Linked DNA regions of Homo sapiens: regions 1 and 3 are each linked to region 2. The links are contacts of gene promoters, found by promoter capture Hi-C in human tissues and cell types (Jung and others, 2019). All regions are on one chromosome and are shown on one strand. Each heading gives the region's core, a stretch centred on a gene start or on the middle of the fragment in contact. The rest is flanking DNA. Distances are from core to core; before and after follow the strand shown. Region 1 holds the start of CCDC17 (coiled-coil domain containing 17). Region 2 holds the start of BEST4 (bestrophin 4). Region 3 overlaps TESK2 (testis associated actin remodelling kinase 2).

Region 1 (3,547 bases), core at 508-3,007, 840 kb before region 2:
TGAGAACATATTTCTAAAAATGTACTCTTTATGTCAGTTGGAATTAAGCTGAACTGAGATGACATACTTTGAACACTTTGTAACTTGCTGCTGGTGGGTCATACCTTGGCTTTAGGTACTGAGTAGGGAAATGTCTTAAGTCCCTGTCTTGTTTAGAAAAGGGAGTTTCGGCCAGGCATGGTGGCTCACACCTGTAATCCCAGCACTTTGGGAGGCCGAGGCGGGGGAATCACGAGGTCAGGAGATCGAGACCATCCTGGCTAACACTGTGAAACCCCGTCTCTACTAAAAATACAAAAAATTAGCCAGGCATAAGGCTGGGCGCAGTGGCTCACGCCTGTAATCTCAGCACTTTGGCACGCCGAGGCGGGCGGATCACAAGGTCAGGAGATCAAGACCATCCTGGCTGACACGGTGAAACCCCATCTCTACTAAAAATACAAAAAAAATTAGCCGGGCACAGTGGTGGGCACCTGTAGTCTCAGCTACTCGGGAGGCTGAGGCAGGAGAATGGCTTGAACCCGGAAGGCGGAGCTTGCAGTGAGCCCAGATAGTGCCACTGCACTTCGGCCTGGGCGAAAGAGCGAGACTCCGTCTAAAAAAAAAAAAAAAAAAAAGCCGGGTGTGGTGGCAGGTGCCTGTAGTCCCAGCTACTGGGGAGGCTGAGGCAGGAGAATGGTGTCAACCTGGGAGGCAGAGCTTGCAGTGAGCCGAGATCGTGCCATTGCACTGTAGCCTGGGCAACAGAGCGAGACTGTCTCAAAAAAAGAAGAGAAAAGGGTGTTTCTTGGCCGGGCGCAGTGCCTTACGCCTGTAATCCCAGCACTTTGGGAGGCCAAGGCGGGCAGATCACGAGGTCAGGAGATCAAGACCATCCTGGCTAACATGGTGAAACCCCGTCTCTACTAAAAAATACAAAAAATGAGCCAAGCGTGGTGGTGGGCACCTGTAGTCTCAGCTACTTGGGAGGCTGAGGCAGGAGAATGGCGTGAACCCAGGAGGCAGAGCTCATTGCAGTGAGCTGAGATCGCGCCACTGCACTTCGGCCTGGGCGACAGCGAGACTCCATCTCAAAAAGAAAAAAAAAAAAGTAAAGAGGGTTTCTTAAGAAATATGCGGTCACCTCAGAGCTCCTCCATATATTTTGGGAGTGGGAGTGGAGTGAAGAATTTCACCAACAGTTCAGGGTCTTTCTGGCTTCTGGCCAATCTTGGGAGAGAGAAGGGGTTTTTTTCTGGACTTGATTCCCTCATCTGATAGATTCATTCTGTTCGCCCACAGCTTTCATTTCTTGGGCTGTGCTGATTATCTTCGTCTACAGCTGAAAAATGAGGAATCAGGGAATGGGAGTTAGGGAGACTGCTATCCCTGGTGCGACATGGTTTCCAGGCAGAATGCTGGAAAGGTCAGAGTGCCTCCTTTGCCAGGTAGTTCTCTGGATTGGAGAATGGTACAAACTGTTACATCCACTTGGGAGTACAGCAATGAAAAAGATGACACTTGCCTTTTAGAGGCTATTAAATGACCAATGATGTAGTAAGTGATAAGGGCCCAGCCTAGTCTAGGAGGCAGCTGCTTTTTCCTCTTTATTAATAGTCAGGGAAACCAAGCTACAATTAGAGACTTGCCCACGTTCAGACTTTGTAACACTTTTTCAAGCCAGTGGCTCCTCCCAAACGGCCGAGGTTTCCCCACCCATTCTCCTGACCTGCCCAGCCCTGTGGTTGCTGTCCAGGGAGCTAAGGCTCTCCCCAAACAAACTTGAAGATCTCACAGACCTAATAGACACGGCCTTTCCTCTCTGCCTCTGGCTTTATGTCTCTTTCATCCTCCTCTGCCTTTCCCCTGCCCTTGATCCCTTCTGCAGGTCTTGGCTGGTTTCAGGAAACGGGTCCCATCCCATGGACTCCCACTCTGGGGAGCCTGCGCTCCTGCCCTGTGGGACCTGTGACATGGTTTTCCGCTCCTCAGCTCTGTTAGCCACCCATACTCAGCGCTTCTGCATTGGCCACCCGACCCAAGAGATGACATTTGGAGCACAGGCATCAGTTGCCACTGAACCCCAGCGGGCCGCGGTAAGGGCCTCCATGGCCATGGGTGGGGATTCAAAGGAGCCAGGACCTTTATGATTCCTCATCCTACTACACCCTATCCCCAGGTTGTGCCACAAGAACACCAGGGCGTGCCACAAGAACCCCAGGGCCTCCCAGACCAGCAGGCCAGTAGATCTGCTCTAAAGAGGTTAACAGAGGAGGTAGAGCTACCTACCTTCCCCCAGGGCTCAAAACGTTGAGCGTCTTCCCCAAACCTGTAGATCATACTTGGGACAGATTCTGCCCACGCAGAGATCGCGGATCGCTGTTACCTCCAGGTGCAGTGGCTGCGGCTATCCCTACAGGAAATGCGGCCCTGGATAACAGAGGTCCCCAGGGTGTTCGCGGGGCCCTGGACACGTTCCGAGGCGCGGCCTCAGAGTCCCATGTCCGAGGCGGTGGGAAGCCCCAGCGAGCGGCTGCGGGCGCTGTTCAGGACTCGCGCGAGGCGCGTGGCGGAGATGGAAGCGCAGAGCCGGGCCCTGCAGCTACGCGGCGAGGGTGAAGGAGATGGGGGACGGGGACCAAGGACCTCCTCTGCCCTCGCCGTTTGGCTTAAGCTTGCTCGGGCCGGTTCTGACTCGGCCCGCATTCCCTCAGAACTGAGCCGACGCCTCCAAGTTGTGGCCTGTACGCGGGGCGGGATGTCCCGCCTCTTCGGCCTGGAGCAGGAGATTCGAGAACTACAAGCTGAGGCCGGGAGGACGCGGGGAGCTCTAGAGGTGTTGGGGGCCCGCATTCAGGAGCTGCAGGCGGAGCCAGGGTGAGACCCGACTAAGCGGATCCCCGGAACATGCGGCTCCGGGGTGGGAGGGGCGGGCTGGCTGCAGCCCCGGGGCCTCTGATGCGTTACCGTCTCCCTGCGCGTCGCCTGCCACCCCAGGAACCCGCTGAGCTCCCGGCGAGAGGCAGAACTTTATTCTCCAGTGCAAAAGGCCAACCCGGGAACTCTGGCTGCCGAAATCCGGTGAGAGCCGGGGCCGGAGATGGGCATAGGGCGAAGCGCTGAGCAGTTCTGGAAAGACGGCCTTCCTGTTCCCCACTCCCTAGGGCGCTGCGGGAGGCCTACATTCGAGACGGGGGCCGGGACCCCGGCGTGCTGGGCCAGATATGGCAGTTGCAGGTGGAGGCGTCTGCACTGGAGCTGCAGCGGTCGCAGACCCGCAGAGGTGAACAGGAGGGCCTCTCGCCAGCGGTGGTCAGTCCTGGGAGGAGAAAAGAACTCGAGGGAGGGCCTGTGGCTGTGGATGGCATGTGAGCTGACAAGTCCAGCCTTATCCGAAGAGCCTTAGCGCTGGAGAGCTGCTCACAGCCGGACGCGGCCAGTCACCAGAGGTCAAAGGTGACAGGTCACACTTGTTCATCGCAGGAAGGGCAGGTGCCACCTCAGGGGAGCTTCCAGTAGTGGAGGCTGAAAACCGGCGCTTGGAGGCAGAAATCTTGGCCTTGCAAAT
Region 2 (3,630 bases), core at 770-3,269:
GTAGGCAAGACTGGACCAGTCGTGGGAAACCAAAGAGAACAGATTCAAATTTTCATAGTAACAGCAGCCCAAGCCAACCACCCACAGTGCTTTAGGCCATAGGCATTGTTTCTGTGAATACTCAAAATTGCCCCATGAGGTTAGGCGTTCTTGATTCTGATTTGCAGAGGAGGAAACTGAGGTTCAGAGAGATTAGGTAACTTGCACAGTTACAAAGAGCTGGGGTTCAGACCCAGGTTTGTCCAATTCCCAAGCCTGTGCTCCTAATCACCTCTCTATGCTTCCTATCTTTAGGAAACTTGCAGAAGAGAACCAGCTCACAGTGTAGGGGGAGGAGCTTCCCAAAACAAGACAGAGGCAGGACCACCACTCTTGGGATTTTTCAGTGTTCACTTACCTCAGCACTGGGAGGGTAAGTAAGCTGCCAATTCTCTTCCACTTTGAGGTTCTATTTCTTTTCTTTTCTTTTTTCTTTTTCTTTTTCTTTTTTGAGACAAAGTTTTGCTCTTGTTGTCCAGGCTGGAGTGCAATGGCATGATCTCGGCTCACCGCAATCTCCACCTCCCAGGTTCAAGCGATTCTTCTGTCTCAGCCTCCGGAGTAGCTGGGATTACAGGCATGTGCCACCATGCTCAGCTAATTTTGTATTTTTAGTAGAGATGGGGTTTCTCCATGTTGGTCAGGCTGATCTCGAACTCCCGACCTCAGGTGATCCGCCTGCCTCGGCCTCCCAAAGTGCTGGGATTACAGGCGTGAGTCACAGTGCCTGGCCTTTTTTTTTTTTTTTTTTTTTGAGACAGAGTCTCTGTCACCCAAGCTGAAGTGCAGTGGCACAATCTCAGCTCACTGCAACCTCTCCCTCCCGGGTTCAAGCGATTCTCCCATTGAGATTCTATTTCTTTTTCTTTTTCTTTTTCTTTCTTTCTTTTCTTTTTTTTTTTTTTTTGATTACCCAGGCTAGAGTGCAGTGGCACGATCTCAACTCGTTGCAACCTGCGCCTCCCCAGGTTCAAGCAATTCTCCTGCCTCAGCCTCCCATGTACCTGCTGGGATTACAAGTTCGTGCCACCACACCCGGCTAATTTTTGTATTTTTAGTAGAGACAGGGTTTCACCATGTTGGGCCAGGCTAGTCTCGAACTCCTGACCTCAAGTGATCCACCTGCGTTGAGGCTGCCCAAAGTGCTAGGATTACAGGTGTGAGCCACCTTGCCTGGCAGCGGAAGTTCTATTTCTATCAGCGCCTTAGGTATTACTTCCTCCAGAGGTGAAAGTGGCCACTCAAATCTTGGGCACCCCTAGGAGTCAGGATGTTGGACACAGGGCTTAACGGAGCCTGCACTCCTAGGCCTGAGCTTCCAGATCTGTGGCTGTCAGCCCCGTGGCATGGATGGAGAAGAGCCTGGCCAAGCCCCCAAGCCCCTGTACAAGAAGACTGGGAGTGTGGCCAGTGCACAGGATGGGTCCTGGAGCTCATGCCTTTGCTAGGCCACTTCCAGCCTTGGAAGTCCATCAGCCCTGGCTTTGAATCCTGCCTCCAACATGTTCTAGCTGTATGGCCGACGGCGGGCAAGTCATTTACCTCTTGGAGCCTCATCTGTGAAATGTGGATGATTGATTCCCTACCTCATGGTGCTGTGATGAGGATTTCTTGAGAGGATGACCTAGTAGTGCCCTTGGCATGGTTCCTGTCACTTAGTCAGTGCTCTGTGATCAGCAGCTGGTATTATTATAACAGTTTATCATGCATCTGTCTTCCCACCTGAAACGTGGGACAATAACCCCTGTCATACTGGCTTGAAGGACATGGTGTCGTCTGTGTGAGCTGTGGGGTCAGTATAGCTGGCATTTCTGCCACTCGAAGGCCAGCCCAACCCTACAGGGGTAAGGAGACACACCCAGTTCCCAGCACCAGGGGAAGCTGGATGACAGCTTCAATCCATCAATGATAGGCCTCAGTCCAGCCTAACTTTATGGACTGCAGAGGTACTTAAGTCTGTGGGGGTTGAAGTCTAGCCCAGTTCATCTTCCACACGGGCTGCTGCCCAGAGCAGGTAGGCAGGTATGGGATGGGGGTGAGAGTGCCCTGGGCCCTGGTAGTTCTAGTTAATCAGCTTCCAAAGCAAGGCCCCAAGGAATAGCAGTGGATTTGGGCTGGAGCTGCGTCTCTTGTCCGCAGCAGTTCAGGATCTGGTTATCCCTAGCCCTGCAGGCTGAAGAGGAGCTTGAGGAAACCTCATGCATGAAGGGACACAGATCTCAGTTCTACCTTGTCCAACTCTAGCCTGGCTTTGCCCATGTACTGCTCAGTTCTGCAGGGGGTGGGGTGTACTTTTCTGCTCTGCAGGCTCCTACCCCCTTGTCCACTGACGCAGGGTGAAGGCTGGGGTGTGTGAGACCAGAGTGGAAGGGAGGTTGTCTGGAGAACTAAACGACAGCCCTGGGGGCAACTCTTGTGACCTCCTGCCCCAGGCTCCCAGCACCATGACGGTTTCATACACTCTCAAAGTGGCGGAGGCCCGCTTCGGAGGTTTCTCTGGCCTGCTTCTCCGCTGGAGGGGAAGCATCTACAAGCTCCTCTACAAGGAATTCCTCCTCTTTGGGGCCTTGTACGCTGTGCTTAGCATCACCTACCGGTAAGGGCAGGGTCTTAGAGCTGGCGCAAGTGGGGAGACTGGGCCACCCACCTCCCTCTAACCCAAGCCTACACCTGCCTTCCCCAGGCTGCTGCTGACCCAGGAGCAGAGGTACGTGTATGCTCAGGTGGCCCGGTACTGCAACCGCTCAGCAGACCTCATTCCCTTGTCCTTTGTATTGGGTAAGGCTCCCTTCTAGTTTTCCCTGTGTCCCCCTTACTGTGTTCCCTGACCTCTGGGTTGGGTTGACAGCTCCGAGGGTCAGAATTACCCAACAGATGGTGTGGTGACACACCTGCAGTCTCAGCTACTCGAGAGGCTGAGGTGAGAGGATCGCTTGAGCCCAGGAGTTCCAGTCCAGCCTGGGCAATGTAGCGAGACTCTGCTAAAAAAAAAAAAAAAAAAAAAAAGAATTACTCAACACGGTGGCAGAGCCTTCCTGGTCAGCCAGAGCAGGCCCAGCAGGCACAGGAGCTGGGTGCTGGGTCCAGGACTTCCAGAGGGCAGGGCCCTATCACTTGCCGGACCCTCACTTCCAGCAAGGCACAAGACACCTGCTGGCCTCACAAGCCCACCCTGGGCACTGCAGGGGAGCTGGACAGAGGTGACAACCCCTTCCCCACCCTCCTGGGAAGCAGTCTCCTGGCTTTGAATCCCCACTTTCCCTCTGCTGAAGGAAGTTTGCCCTCCTCCCTCCTCCTGGCCTCGCACAGCAGGGCACTGGAGCTGAATGTTTCCTTCCCCCTGCCACGATTCAACTGGCCTGGACCAGGCCCTTTGCTGGGGGAGGTGAGGCGCTCCGACCCCCAGGCTCTCCACTCTCCCTTCCTACTCCCTCTATCACGGCGGCCAAGCAGGTTTCTATGTGACTCTCGTGGTGAACCGCTGGTGGTCCCAGTACACAAGCATCCCGCTGCCAGACCAGCTGATGTGCGTCATCTCGGCTAGCGTGCACGGCGTGGACCAGCGGGGCCGCCTGCTGCGCCGCACCCTCA
Region 3 (3,515 bases), core at 424-2,923, 560 kb before region 2:
TCAGGCTGGAGTACAGTGGCATGGTCTCGGCTCACTGCAGCCTCCACTCCATCGGCTCAAGCAATCCTCCTACCTCAGCCTCCCGAATAGCTGGGACCACAGGCGTACACCACCATGCCTGGCTGTATTTTGGTCTTGTTTTGTTTTTTTCCACTCTTATTGCCCAGGCTGGAGTTCAATGGAGTGATCTTGGCTCACTGCAACCTCCACCTCCTGGGTTCAAGCAATTATCCTGCCTCAGCCTCCTGAGTAGCTGGGATTACAGACGCCTGCCATCACCCCTCGCTAATTTTTTGTATTTTTAGTAGAGATGGGGTTTCACCATGTTGGCAGGCTGGTCTCAAACTCCTGACCTCAGGTGATCCACGTGCCTTGGCCTCCCAAAGTGTTGGGATTACAGGCATGAGCCACCATACCCAGCCTTTCTTTTGTATTTTTAACAGAGATGGGGTCTTGCCATGTTACCCAGACTGGTCTCAAACTTGTGAGCTCAAGCAGTCACCCACCTCAGCCTCCTAAGGTGCTGGGATTACAGGCATGCACTGTGCCCAGCCAACTCATACATCTTGAGAGCCTTCATGTTTAACTTCAATCTCCTGAATATGTGTTACAGGAGCAAATGACATGAGAAGGGTTAAGAAATTCTTGCCTTATAGGAATGACAGCAGTCAAGGCAGTATAGGGGCCTATCAGTTTTCTTTCCTGTGGCCCCAGGATGTAGTTCTTAGCTAAGAGCAGGAGTTCAGTGATTTTTAGTCACTTGAATGCAGGTTTTTAGGGCCATATGTACTGACCCATTTTCTGCCTGTGTGATTGAGTTTCTGCTGCCCTGCCAGTTCCTCTTTGGCATCAGCTGATCTCTGTAGCACTCTCTTGCTGTCCAAATTGCTGTGTGACCAGGTTAGAAAAGAGTCGCTTTCAGAGGAAGTTGGCCATGCCACAAAACAGACACCTCATAGCCAAATGGCCTAAGATACCATCATGACAAGGCTTATATAAATAGTACCGTTTGATTATTAATGGGGGAACTATAAGGCAATCTAACATATCTAATATGACTGCTGCCCAAGAACTGAATTAAAGTCTGCTAGGGAGGTGTATAAGAGTTTTGTACCTGCCTAAGAATAGCTGTCACTTCATTCCCCACCCTCAATACCTACATGTACACATATTCACATATGCATGCACATACTCCTACTCCTTCTGCCCCAGATGAAGGGGAGGGGAAGGGAGCCCATCTTAAGAAAAAGCTTGAAAGGGAACAAAAGCAGCAGTACTGAGTCAATAAAGCCTAAAGCAGTAAGTACCTGGATGCCTCACATAGAATGGTTTTGGTGTGTGGCAGAGTCATTTGTAGTCAGCTGCACTGTTCCTGAAGGAGCACAAGACTGGCAAGTAGAAACTGGGAACCAGCAGAGGCCTAGTTGTAAGGAGCCCTTTATCTACATTACTGTCTGTAAGAACTGGACAGTTAGGCAGTTGGGACCTGGAAGGTGATATCTTATCTCTTTATTAGCCATTTCTTCTCCCCCAGAATGTTTTGGAAAACCAAGACTAAGAAAAGTGCAGGCCGGGCATGGTGGCTCACACCTGTAATCCCAGCACTTTGGGAGGCCGAGGCGGGCAGATCACCTGAGGTCAGGAGTTCAAGACCAGCCTGACCAACATGGTGAAACCCTTCCTCTACTAAAATACAAAAATTAGCCGGGCATGATGGCAGGTGCCTGTAATCCCAGCTACTCGGGAGGCTGAGATGGGAGAATCGCTTGAACCCAGGAGATGGTGGCTGTGGTGAGCCGAGATCGTGCCACTGCACTCTAGCCTGGCGACTGAGCGAGACTCCGTCTTGGAAAAAAAAAAGAAAAAAAAAAAGAAAATTGCATTTGTTCCAGGCAAATGGATGGGACTGAATCAACTCAGATATCAAATCTTTGCTTCCTACTCAGAAAGCGCCATTTTTTCTAAGATAGAAGGAGTTTGTGACAAAATATGTATCAGTTACACAGATACTCCCCCCACACACACACACACACAAGTGTCTCCTATACCTGGCTCCAAGGATGAAGGAATATTAGAAAAGAGGAACTTCTGACCTAGAGGTATGTACAGTTTTGTTGGCAAATAACTAAAAAGTAGTGCACAGCATTTTATAATTGTTTAGCTACATAGACGACAAGTTTTCTGAGCAGGAAAGATCACTCTAGGCCAGGGTAGCTAGGCTTCCTCGAGGAAAGCCCCCACTCCCTAAGAGTTCATCATATTCCCTTCTGTGCCCCAAAAGCACTTTGTCCCATTGTGCTAGTGTCCAAGTGTGGTTCTGTCTGGGCTTGTTGTGCTGTATTATAAAAATAACCTTTTTGGACTATAGGATAAGACCACTACCCTTTGCTTTTCCTTATGGGGAATGGGTATTCCCAGTGTCAACTGACTTGAGACAAGAAACTAGGAACATAGGAGAAATAACTCCCTATATTTCTGGGCTGTACTTTCTTGGGTCCGGACTTTAAGGAGGTTTTGAGGATAATTCCAGGTGGTGAGAACAAAGGACGTTTGCAAACTCTAGAGGAAGGCTGGGAAGTACACTATAGGGGATCTCAAGTTGAAGACAAACAAGTGAGTCTTATGAACCAGACTGTCCAATTTGAGATACCGTCTGTGTTCATTGCCCTTTTATCATCTCTGAGAAATAAAGCTAAAGGGACAGTAGAGGGCTCGGAGGTTTCCAAATTATCTCTTCATAGTCCATCTTGGGTCTGTGTCTTATTTCTTTAAGGACAGTATCAGGCTTTCTTATATTTTAATATTATACACTCCATATCACTTGATTGTTCTGTTGTGTCTGTATCTCCCACCAGCATGAGTTTCTCAAGTGCTTCTCTTATTTACTTTTGTTTTCTTACCACCTAGCACAGAGCCTATGAGAGTATAAAGTCTTCCTGGGCCTATTTCAGGGAAGGGCGAAGGGCTTGATAGCAAAGAGGCCAAAACGCCTGCTCCAGAGCTGAGATTCTGGGTTCCAGGCCCAGTTTTGTCCCCATCTCTGAACGACTTCAGTGACCTTGGAACCTCCGTGCTCCCAGTCTGTAAAACAGATGCTGTCCTTGACTTTGCAGGAGCGATCAGTCCACACTGCTCAGACCAGAGCTAACAAGAGGGATTTAAAGTAGAGGTAACATGTTCCAAGTGGGTAAACCAGGACAGAGAGAAGAAGATGCCTTTTTCCAAATGATCCTAAGCCTGTGGTTAGAAGCAAAAAGATCCCTAGTTTCCTATCAACGTGCCTCCTGAAAGTAGTATTACCTTTATAGGACTCATGTCCGCAGCTACTGCAATAATGCTCTAAGAGTAAAATGTCTGTCAGATATAGCCATTCAGTCTAATTTTGTAATTACTTCTAAGAAACAGCCTGAAACAGACTTTTGCAGTGGCAAGGCCAAGAACTTACTTGGAAGGAAGTGGGAGGCAGTGTGGCTTTAAAAATATTCAGTTTGTGAGCACTATGAAGAAGTGCCAAT

Evidence for each region. Contacts are between HindIII fragments. The study calls those that stand out against the background at their distance.
Region 1: a contact is called between the fragment with the promoter of CCDC17 here and the fragment with the promoter of BEST4 in region 2, in 1 of the 25 tissues and cell types used here (IMR-90 fibroblasts).
Region 3: a contact is called between a fragment that was not itself captured here and the fragment with the promoter of BEST4 in region 2, in 1 of the 25 tissues and cell types used here (lymphoblastoid cells).

What each region holds. Positions count from the first base shown.
Region 1 is chr1:45,622,264-45,625,810 of GRCh38, reverse strand. It overlaps CCDC17 (coiled-coil domain containing 17), which reads left to right and starts at 1,757. Exons shown (of 13, transcript NM_001114938.3): 1 at 1,757-2,075; 2 at 2,159-2,254; 3 at 2,372-2,594; 4 at 2,694-2,856; 5 at 2,977-3,060; 6 at 3,144-3,262; 7 at 3,463-3,547. The coding sequence starts at 1,902. The HindIII fragment of the contact is 15,886 bases long and covers 1-3,547 here.
Region 2 is chr1:44,786,559-44,790,188 of GRCh38, reverse strand. It overlaps BEST4 (bestrophin 4), which reads left to right and starts at 2,019. Exons shown (of 9, transcript NM_153274.3): 1 at 2,019-2,635; 2 at 2,723-2,817; 3 at 3,493-3,630. The coding sequence starts at 2,484. RefSeq lists enhancers at 2,791-3,476, 3,478-3,567, 3,477-3,630. The HindIII fragment of the contact is 9,775 bases long and covers 1-3,630 here.
Region 3 is chr1:45,351,251-45,354,765 of GRCh38, reverse strand. The region is part of intron 5 of TESK2 (testis associated actin remodelling kinase 2); the gene reads left to right. Among named protein-coding and RNA genes, the nearest start is that of TOE1, 13 kb to the right of the region's middle. The HindIII fragment of the contact is 4,062 bases long and covers 1-3,515 here.